Regions from separate parts of the Homo sapiens genome. Here region 2 is linked to region 1. The links are contacts of gene promoters, found by promoter capture Hi-C in human tissues and cell types (Jung and others, 2019). All regions are on one chromosome and are shown on one strand. Each heading gives the region's core, a stretch centred on a gene start or on the middle of the fragment in contact. The rest is flanking DNA. Distances are from core to core; before and after follow the strand shown.

The links. Contacts are between HindIII fragments. The study calls those that stand out against the background at their distance.
Region 2: a contact is called between a fragment that was not itself captured here and the fragment with the promoter of OR9A2 in region 1, in 2 of the 25 tissues and cell types used here (liver and thymus).

The regions. Positions count from the first base shown.
Region 1 is chr7:143,025,139-143,030,505 of GRCh38, forward strand. It overlaps OR9A2 (olfactory receptor family 9 subfamily A member 2), which reads right to left and starts at 1,994. Exons shown (of 1, transcript NM_001001658.1): 1 at 1,062-1,994. The coding sequence starts at 1,994. The coding sequence ends at 1,062. LOC105375544 (a long non-coding RNA gene) reads right to left here. Exons shown (of 2, transcript XR_001745395.1): 2 at 4,122-5,367. The HindIII fragment of the contact is 7,003 bases long and covers 1-5,367 here.
Region 2 is chr7:142,808,830-142,814,446 of GRCh38, forward strand. LOC105375541 (a long non-coding RNA gene) reads left to right here and starts at 5,368. Exons shown (of 2, transcript XR_001745392.2): 1 at 5,368-5,617. It also overlaps TRB and TRBV30. RefSeq lists an enhancer at 1-759 and a cis regulatory region at 1-772. The HindIII fragment of the contact is 4,455 bases long and covers 421-4,875 here.

The DNA.
Region 1 (5,367 bases), core at 744-3,243:
TGTTGTTGTTTAGGTAAACTTCTTCCTTATAAGGACTTCTTCCAATATTATGTGAAATTCCAACAGTTACACTACCAAACAGCCAATCCCTATAATTTCTAGAAAGCCGGGAGTCAAAAGAATGGCCTCTTATTTTTAAAAAATTCTGCCCACAGAGAAGATACACATGATGGTACTGAGACTGTTGGATTTGAGAGACGGAGAATCAAAAGACATTATAAAGTTTGAAGTCTAGATCTGGATACAGTCTGAACAGACATAGTTGTGTTTAACAGCCATAAAATACAGGATGCTCTCTAGAATTAGTCATTTAGTTCTTATTTGCCCCTGTCCCTATACTCACCACAAAGAAGGGCAGTGAAAGGAATATGCTGAAGCTTAACAAAAATAAATTTTCCTCCATTTTTATCCTCAAATATTTTTATCTTCTTTACACCACAAATATCTCCTGAATGAGAAGCATTCCAATCCTCATATCGCCATTCTAGACTGGTTCTGTGACAAAACGTAAACAGTGTTACACTTCCTTTCCAGTATCAATGGGGCAGAGAGAAAGAGCTTTAGGATATCTAAAATGCATATGGCCATCTTGCCAAAAAATTGCACAAAAATATAGGGAAGAACTTAGCAACAGGTGATGAAGGACCAAAGTGAGCATCTCTACCTTTCTACTCTGATTAGGACACCTTTCTCAGTACACCTCCCTCCACACTTCCTCCCTTCCCCAGAAAATACATTTTCAGAGATGGACTATGAGGAAATGAGTTGGGCTAATAGAATTCTTACAAAAATGTCTGCATTTCCTTTCTCTAGTCCCCCCCAAATCACAAGAATATGTTCAACAGTGGAAACAGGCAGGAACTAAGGCTATGAGAGTCTCCTGGACAGACAATGGATTTCATTATTACCAGCCTAATCTACTTCCATGGTGTGATGGCGAATTGTACACACTCTTTGACTTTTGTAATGAGAGGATAAGAGAAAAGAGGAGTTAGAATTTTCTAGGTGACTTAATAATTAACCCTGAGGCTTGGACCACCTAAAACTGACTTACAGAACAGCTAATCTTTCAGGAGTTGACAGCAGCGTTTCATCCCATCTCGGAGGGCCTCTTTGACTTTGTCATTCCGAAGAGTAAAGATGAAAGGATTCAGGAAGGGGGTTAACACAGAAACCAACAGGGAAACTATCTTATTGTACTCAACTCCCTGTGTTTGCTTGGGTTTCACGTAGAGAAACAAGCAGCTGCCATAGCCAATCACAACACAGGTGAAGTGGGAGGCAAAAGTGGAGAAGGCTTTCCTCCGGCCAGAGGCTGACGGGATCTTGAGGATGGTGGAGATAATGTAGGTGTAGGAGACAATCGTAGGGATCAAAGAACCAATGAGAATAAAAACAGCCATTAAGAAAAGGATAAACTCTGTGAGAAGAGTGTTATCGCAGGACAGTTTGAGCAATTGCCCTCGGTCACAGTAAAAATGGTCTAATGAATTTGATTTGCGGAAGGTAAACTGAAATGTGGCATAGATGGGCCAGATTTCAGAAAGAAATCCAAACACCCATGACACTATTACCACCCAAATACAGGTACTGCTGTTCATAATGATGTTGTACCTCAAAGGGTTACACACAGCCACATAACGGTCCACAGCCATCACTCCAAGTAATGCAAACTCCATGGTCCCACAGGAAAAGTTGAGCGATACATGTAGAGAAAGATACTGTCTGCATCCCAGGAAGAGCAATCCCCAAAGCATCATGGGGACAATTATGGTTGTGACCAGGATCTCCAGGGTAGAGAGGTGGCTGAGGAAGAAATACATGGGGGACTGCAGACGTTTATCCACACAGACAATCACAATGATGACCGTGTTTCCCATTAATGTCACTAAATAGAAGAAAAAGAATATAGCAAAAAGAATGTGGTGTAGTCCTTGGGACCCAGGGAAGCCTAGAAGGTGGAATTCAGTGGCACTAGAGTGGTTGTCCATCATTTAGTCCTTGATTCTGCTTGTTTTGAAGCCCAGAGATTAAAAGAGAGGTGGCATTGCTCCACATGGTCCTGCTCTCAAGAGAGAAGGAAGAAAAATTAGGTTAAGAAACTATTTCCAACCTGAGAATCAGGTGACATGTCCCTGCTACTGTGGTCGGCACATACATAGCTTGAGGTACATGTTGTCATCCCAAGTCTACAAGTGAGGCTCTCACTTCCCTGTGTAACCAGCCCCCTAGAATGGGTGAAGACATCTTCTTCTACTGGTGGTGAAATACCTTCCTTGCCTTTTTCCCCATTAAATATACCTTCTCTCGGGGGCAGAGGCTAAGACCTTTTAAATAGGCCAGTTTTAAAGGTGAGTCAATCAGGTCCCTCCGGTCCTGGAGTTACTTTCTCTTAGGTTAACTGTGCAAGATGACACAAAGGCATTTTATATGATGTTCAAAGGACAGAATTTTAAACCCCAGCTCTCATCTGTAATGGTAATGCATAGACCCACCTTTGGGGCCAGCAGAAAGGAGGCAGAGGATGTAAGACTAACATCTCTGCTGTTCCAGATTTTAAAATCTCCATTTTACAGAACAGCAAGATCTCTAAATGAGAACTCTAGAGCTTGGGATAATTTCCCAGAACAGATCCATTCTTCTCTAATTCCATTTTCCTTCCAAAGTTGTGGGAGGAAGGAAAGATGGCACCTGGCACAGAAAAGGAATAGATCTGGGACCGCCAGCTGTTAAGGATGCCTGGCTCTCTGCCTGTCGCTTCATTCCATTATTCAAATGTCACCCTTTCCAAAGACTCTTTCCAATCACTCTGCCCAAAACAGAAAAGACACACTTATTATTGGACTTCCATTTTTTTAATAACAGTTGTTATTACCTTGTATTATGTCTAATTATTTACTTCATTCCTTTATTTAACAATAAACAAATGTAGTCATGAACAGAACAAAGAAAATTCCATGCCCTGTGGAGCTTATATTCAAGGAAGAGGTGGGGGCTAGACCACACACAAGACACCTAAGTAAAATATGCAATAGTTTAGTTTGCTTATCATGTCACAGGGAAAAAAATAAGCAAGAAAGAAGGAGAGGAAATTTAAGTGTATTTATTATTTATCAACGGCATTAGAATATAAACTCCATGAGGGCTAGGACATGTCTTCACTGTTGTATTCTGAGGCTGGCACATAAAATGTACATACATAAATTAAGTAGTTATATATTTTATATATATATATCATATATCTTTTATATAGATATAGACAGATACATTATGTGAAATGAATATATCATAGATATATCTTATATATTAAATTATGTATTAATTTATCACAAGGTAACCGAACTAATAGCTGTGTGAGTCAAGATTTGAACCTAGGTCTGTCAGATTTCATCACTCACACAGCTAACTACCACACCTTATATTATATTATTATCTTATATTATTTATCTTATTTATATAAGATATATGAAATAAGATATATGAAATATATCTTATATTATATAAAATATACATATATTTTTTATTTATAAGATATTTAAATACATAAGATATATGTATCATATACATAAAATAAGTAGTGCTGACAAATTTTGCTAGATGAGGTATGGATGGATGGATGGATAATATATGATTAAATAATACTTGTTCTGGCCAGGGCCTGGGCCACATTCCCTCAATCCTATTCTGGTTGGTTTTCCTTCCTGCCTCACATTACCATTTTCCCTCCTGCCCTTCCCTTGCTTAGGTAACCCCTTCCCTGTCTACGTCACTGTTTTACTAATGGTTTAAAAAGCTTCAGGGACAGAATTGATGGGAAAGCTCAGTGTTCTGGTTTTCCACAACCTCTGCATAACCAGCACGAGATGAAGAAACATGAGCGAGAAGGACACCGACTGTCAGGGAGCCGTGACTGTGTTAGCATTGGGTCCAAGAGGAGCCGGAAGTGCTCTCTGCTATGCAGGAAGGGTCTGGAGATGAGCCTATACACTCTACTGCTCCCCTAGCCCACACTTCAATATCTGGGTGACTTTGTTCTAGAAGATAGGCAGGCCCAGGATGTCCCATCCTAAAATGCTTTTACCCTCTTCTTCATAGAGGAGACCCCTTGGAAAGACACTCACCTTTACAGAGGGGCTTCGCCGCCTCTTCTGATGTTCTCTAGGGCTCCGCTGAGGCTACCTCCTGTCCTGCTAGTGCTGAGCCATGCACAGGGGCCAGAACAAGTTGCTGCAATCCCCACTCATGGCGAAGAAGGGAAATGTCCTCCCAGAGGAGCTTAGGAAAAAGCCCAGAAATGAGTGTTGGGCAAAGTTGAGGGTCCTCTCTCTCTCCCCTCTCCTCCCTCTTCCCTTCTTCCCAAGGGTACTTAATCACCGAGTTACTACTTCTTAATTAGCCCACGTTCAGGGAGTCCCCAGGCAATCAGTCTAGTGGGAGCAGAACAAACTTTAAGTTATTCCCATTTTTTGACCAATTAAGTTTTAGAACTTTTGAAAGTTTTTGTTTGACGGGAAAACCTGAAATCTTACCAATCAGGGACTTCTTAATACTGGGGCTGCCTTCCTGAAAACCTCAGGTCTAGGTTTCCAGATGTCTCAGATTCTAAACAGTCAACTACCTCTGTCGTTTATCTTAGGCTTTTCTCAAGTTTCTCTAGTTATTCGGAGCCTAAATCAACCCTTTTCCCCCAGTAGGAGACACCACAATTGGCCTCTAAAACATGCACCAATATCCCAAAAAAGTCTGCATATTGGTCTTGGTCAAAGCCTTAACTTCACCAAATATCTTCTAAAAAGCCTGATGACTCCTTCATTCATTTTAAAAAGGCTCCTGCGTTTAGTCCTGTGGACCCTACAGAATACTGTAAGAGGTCCCTCCCCTAAATCGAACTCTATTCTGTTCTATTGTCTCAGGTTTTCACTCCTCTTGATATATGTGCATCTGTATGCATTCCAGCAAGATTCTTCCAGACTTTTTTTTTTCCTATGGCATGTCCCTGATTACCAGCTGGACCACTGCAAAGTAGAGAGAGCATAAGGACAGCTTATGTACACAGTTCTGTTTGCAACCTGGAGGAACTGACAAAATGTAAGTTGGAAATCTGTCTAATGCTGGAGTAAGACAGAAAAAGTAGGAATTACAAAACATTTGTCTGCATTTTTGTTTTCATTTTAAGTATTTTAAGTACACCTGTTAAATCTGAGAATTTCAATTGGTGCCTAAGGGTATAAATTGGGATTAATCTTTCTTCCAATTCCTTAAATTGCCCAAGCCCAAATACTTGCCATATAATTTTAGAGAAATTTTCCAAGCATGTATCTCCATATTCTTTTTCGTAAAGGCTGTGAAAATCTGTTTGCAACCTTT
Region 2 (5,617 bases), core at 1,398-3,897, 220 kb before region 1:
CTGGGGTAGGAATGGGGGTTCTGAGCCCAGTGCTGGCTGCCGGGCTGTTTATCTCTGAGTCACATCAGCACCAAGCCACAGCAGCCACCTGCCCTAGCTCCATCTCTTACAGTCACAACAGGATGTGGTTTGACATTTACTGGGTCCTGCATCTGGGGTGCCTGTGAAAGTTGCTCCCTCCACCCACCCACCTTCAGAGCATCATGAGAACCACACTCACCGCATCCGGCACCCAACCCCCTCCTATGCTGCTCTTTCTACCTGGGCCCCTGGTTAGCATCCTGGCAGTAGAAATAGAACTTCAGAGGGGAGGGGCAGGGTCTCTAGAGGGGAATCTAGGTATCCCAGATCCATGTGCAGGCCTCCCCTCCCCCAACACATCTTTACACCTGCTGGAGGTTATGCACAAGATCAAAGGCCACAGTGGGCACCATGAAGATAGTGGAGAATGAAAAACAGCTGCAATAACTGCTCTGACCCAGTTGGGATCCCTTCTGGTCCCACATCACTCAGGCAACTCTCTCTTCCCACCTGCCCCCCAAACTCCCTTCCACCTCCCTCCACATGTATCCTCCCACTTCCTTCCACTCATGTAATGAGAGGTGCTGATGAGTCACAGGAGAGGTAGCCCTAGATAACCAACAGACTGCAAAACGGACAGTCCCTGGATGTCTGAGCCAGTGTTTGTGCACTGCATTGACTGGCTCCTCGTAGTTTTTTCCTGTAGTTGCTAAAGCCTGTAAGGTCTGTGTGATGAATATTTTCTAACACATCTTAGAAGAACATAATGCAAGACAGAATGAAAAACTAGAGAGGCAGAAACCCCCAAAGTAAGTAGTGGGAAATTACCAGGTATATAATAGGTCAAGCCTGCTCTGCAGGAGCTCAAGGGATTGTAGCATTCTTATCCCAAACCACTGAATCCTGGGCAAAAATAAGAAGTCGCCTAATTTTAGTATTACCAGCTTCCCAACCCCGGGCATTCTTCATCTTACTCAAGCTGTCCAGAGGCCCCAGGGTGACTCCCTATAAGTCCCATGGGTGGCTGAGATCTATTTAGAGGCACAAGGGTATCTCCTTATAAGTCCCATGGGTGGCTGAGATCTATGAGAAGCATCTTGGGGAGAGTGCCTCTGGCCACCAGCATGTGGCCCTGAATCTTCCATGTGCAACTGGCCAGGGAAGGAGATATATGGAAATAGTCATCCTGCACATCTGCAAAATCAGATGCAAATCCTGGAAGCTCTCCTAGAAAAGAGACAGCCTCATCTGATTAAAGGGGCAAGTGAGTTTGATGAATTATTGGCAAGAGACAGCATGTCTGAACAGGATCGGTCATCCTAAACTGCTTTCCTTTGTCCCCTGGAATTATAATGACTGTGGATTTCTGAGTCCTAGATGGTATGGAAACAGTTATGGGAATGAACAGTCTTGCATGAATAAGAGCAGATAACATGGAGGATGTTAATTTGTTCTGCTGAATTTAGGTGGCTTTCAAGCCTCTCCTTCAATGCTCACCTGTCTCTAGGATGCTCTGTGCAATGATCAGGACTTTTTTTCTTCAGATTCTCTAAAACTTACAATATTCACATAGACCTGCACATTTCTACACAAACTGACTCTCCTGCTTGCAATGTCATTTTGCTTATATAACTATTAGCCTCCTAAAGAGCTAAACTTAGCTACAATTTTATGTCCTTTGTGAAGTTTTCCAGAATTTTTGCAGTATATTACAGGAAGGAAAAATCTGCCTCAAGTCTCTACTAATTCTACTTGACTAGTGGTGATTGCCTGAGACATTTCTCTATTAATGAGGATTCTGAAGCTGTATAAAGCCCCTACAGAATCAGCATCTGAATAGGCACAGCATAGGGTTCAAGTTTCATGGTTTTGCCATCCAAGCATGTTTAGCATTTTAAATATTAATATTTATTACATACTTGTAGTTTATGATTTGAAATTTTTTAACTAAGTCTTCCTCTTGGGTAAGTTGTAATGAAAATAATCTTGTAAGCTTAAGGAGCGGAAAATAATACCTGTTGAAAATTAGAGCTTGTAATAGGGCTTTATAAACACCATCTCATTTAATACACATAACAATTCAATGAGGCAAGTTTTATAGGTGGGGAAAAACTTGAAACTTAGTAAAATTAAATAACTAGGTCAAGTTCATAACAACTAGCAAATTTTTAGACTACAAAAATCAAGTGCTTTGACTAAATCATGCTATGACTGTGCCCAACACCATCTCGAGTACATTTTATTTTTCTTTTTAATCCTCAAAATGACTCACTGTGTCCAGCAAATAATAGCTGCTTAATACATAGGTGATCCTTAAAGTTCAGTAGGGACCCCTGGGCATTATTCCATATGTTCTTGATCACTCTGTGTCTACATCTCAGATTTTCCACTTCAGATTAAATGATACTAGAAATATGCACGTGTCTGGATTGATCTAGGTTAAATGATGCCCGGAATGGAGTATTTTAAGACATCTTGTGCCCCCTTGTGGAGGGGAAGGGACATTAGAAAGAAAATCTTTTTAAGAACAAGGACTAGGGAGGGATGGGGATGAGGAAGGAAGCTCAGTTGCCAAGGTAACCATCGAACCTCTTCCCAGCCATCCACATCAGCCTTTTCCTCTCCTTCATTTCCATCCAAGTGATTTCTCTTTTTTAGAGCTCAACCATTACACACACGGTCCTCTTCTTGCGTATCTCTTGGATCACCATCTGTCTGTCTTTGCTACAAAGGAAGGGCTACAAGATAGTACAACAGGACATTTTTTAAAACCTCAAACATCACCAAAATTTCTAAGTGCAAGCTTATTTTTATTTTTTTTTTTTTTGAGACAGAGTCTCGCTCTGTCACCCAGGCTAGAGTGCAGTGGCATGATCTTGGCTCACTGCAACCTCCACCTCCCAGGTTCAAGTGATTCTCTTGCCTCAGCCTCCCAAGTAGCTAGTATTACAGACGCCTGCCACCACGCCCGGTTAATTTTTGTACTTTTAGTAGAGACAGGTTTCACCATATTGGCCAGGCTGGTCTCAAACTCCTGACCTCAGGTGATCCTCCTGCCTCAGCCTCCCAAAGTGCTGGGATTACAGGCATGAGCTACCACGTCTGGCCTAAGTGCATGTTACCTATACTAACAAAACCACACTTCTGCCTCGAATGAGAACAGTCTCCTGAACATCTTGCCTCTTTGCCTGACTCAAAGCCTCAGGTCTAAGCCTCCCCATAATTTCTAGTCTCAGCAGAAAGATCAATGACAGGAGACTCTCCAGGTGATGAAATTAACCAATTAAGTAACCTGGGTTGGCATCCTCCCGTTTGTTCACCAGCTCACCTCCTGCCACAGGTATATCCTTTCTCTCAGCCATATATGCACAAACCCCCTCCCCACGGCACACATAGAAGAATTTGGAAGACTAGAAAATCAGGCAAGGTATAGCACACCTTGAGGGCTGGAGTATGGTAGCCTGGGCCGGGACATCCATACATTGAGAACTTGACTATGTGCAGGCAAATCACAGGTTCTGCACACATACAATTTTTTGTTCTCCCTGAGAACTTAGTAGAGTCTTTTGTAGAATTCTCGCTTTATTCCATTGCTTTCACATTGGCCAGCAGTCAGAAACCTACTTACAAATATCCTCCACCCAGTCCCTAAGTGAAGGCCCCTGGGGAGTATGGTTAGGGCTCAGGAGAGGGTGGGGTTTTTGCACAGATGTCTGCCCCACCCAGCTCAGTGTGACACTCCAGGCACAGAGATAGAAGCCAGAGTCACTGAGAAGGAGCTTCTTAGAACTCAGGATGAACTGCCGGTCCTGGGGTCTGGAGGCTGAGAGATTCTGGGGCACCTCAGAGCTGATCTGGCCAATACCAACGGAGTAGAAGAGCAGCTGGAGGCCCCTGCCTGCAGCCTGTCGGTACCAGTATAGGTTGGGGTTTGATGTTCCCTCCACAGTGCACTCCAGAGAGAGCGGGCTGCCCACAGGCTGCACCAGGGTCGCTGGCCATTGATGAATAGTCTGAGATCTGACCCCTGTGGGAAAGATAAAGTGCCATTTACAGAGGAGCACCCCAGCCTGGCTTGCCTTCCCCAGACAGAGGGGCAGCTCAAGCTCTTGCATGACACAGGCACCTGGAATCCATCATGGGGAGTAGACTGGGGGAGCCAAGGATGCAAAGCATCCCTGGGCCAGGGAAGACCAACAGAACGAACTCCTTCTCAGGAGATAGAGAGAACTAAGAATCATCAGATCAGCCCCTAAGGCTAAATTCCCATATCTGTTCCAGACAATCAGGAATAGACTCAAGAGTGTCAAACCAACAGCTCAGACTCTGCATTCACGGGATTGGGGTGAGGGTGAGGATGAGAAAAGAGGCTTGCCAGAGAGGAGGGCACCCACCAAAGAAAGTGCCCAGGAGAAGGGCAAGGAGAGAGCAGAGCATCATCCAAGCCAGCCTTTCCTTCAGCTAGTCTGGGGGACAGACGCCTCCTCTTCTGGGCCAGTGATGTGGTCAGGCTGCTCCCTCTGGGAGATCTGCTGCCAGAGCAGAGGAATCCTACCCCATGAGCTGGGGAGGAAATGAGGCTAGTCTTCTTTTAAGAGTGTGGTGAATCACCCCCAGCCTCCCTGGGAACCAGCTATACTCTGCACTTGTTATCTTCTTTGCATTCCTGCTGACATCCTGGTATGTAAATATATTTAATGACTCATTATTTACCTGTAAACTAAAGGTAACTCTCCAGCTCCCCCGGGAGACATCAGAAGCCTGGGAAAGCTTCAGAGAAACTGTGATACTGATAGAAGGATGAAAAAAGATTTTAGTTTATCTGAAATTGGAAACTAGAGCTAGACATGTTACCTGGGAGATGAAAGGATAGGGCTCAAGAGATTCAGGTATTTTGGGGTAATCAAAGCAGAAATGCTCAGTTCTGAGGGCAGGAAGCTTCTATGACAGCCAAAGGGATCGCCTGCATAATCTTCATCCCTGGCAGACAGATTTTGAGACCTGGACAGGCATAATTAACTCCTGAACTGATCAAAGTTGGAATCTGCTCCATGTGTCTCTAATGGGCCAACTAGATCTAATTTATCCTCTAAATGCAATATGAGTAATAGGAAACATCACAGAGACTTGGAATCATATGGATTTGGGTTCATTTCACAGCTCTGCTTCTTGCTGGCTTGGGAACTCTCAAGCAAACCCTGATTCTCAATTTTCTTATCTATAAAGTGAAAATAATGATGACAATATCTAAAAATTGTTGAAAGATGCATTTTGCCTGGTGCACTGCAGGCAGGCACTCTTACATATGTTGGCTTTTTTTTTTTTTTTTTTTTTTTTTTTTTTTTGACTCCCTATGTCTGCAGCAAAGATTGGGAGATTTACAATGGCATGGGGTGGAAGGTAGGGGCTGAAGGGATCACGAGCCACAAAAAACACAGTCAAGCCACGAATTCATAATAGTAAGGATTCATAATAGCTAAGCATGGGACTCTGCTAGGTAGCTGCTAAAATGTCATTCTGCTGAAATGGGACAAAAGACCTTCAGATGCCTGGAGGACACCAGCACACCCTTGGAAACTCCTCTTCCCTCTGTCTT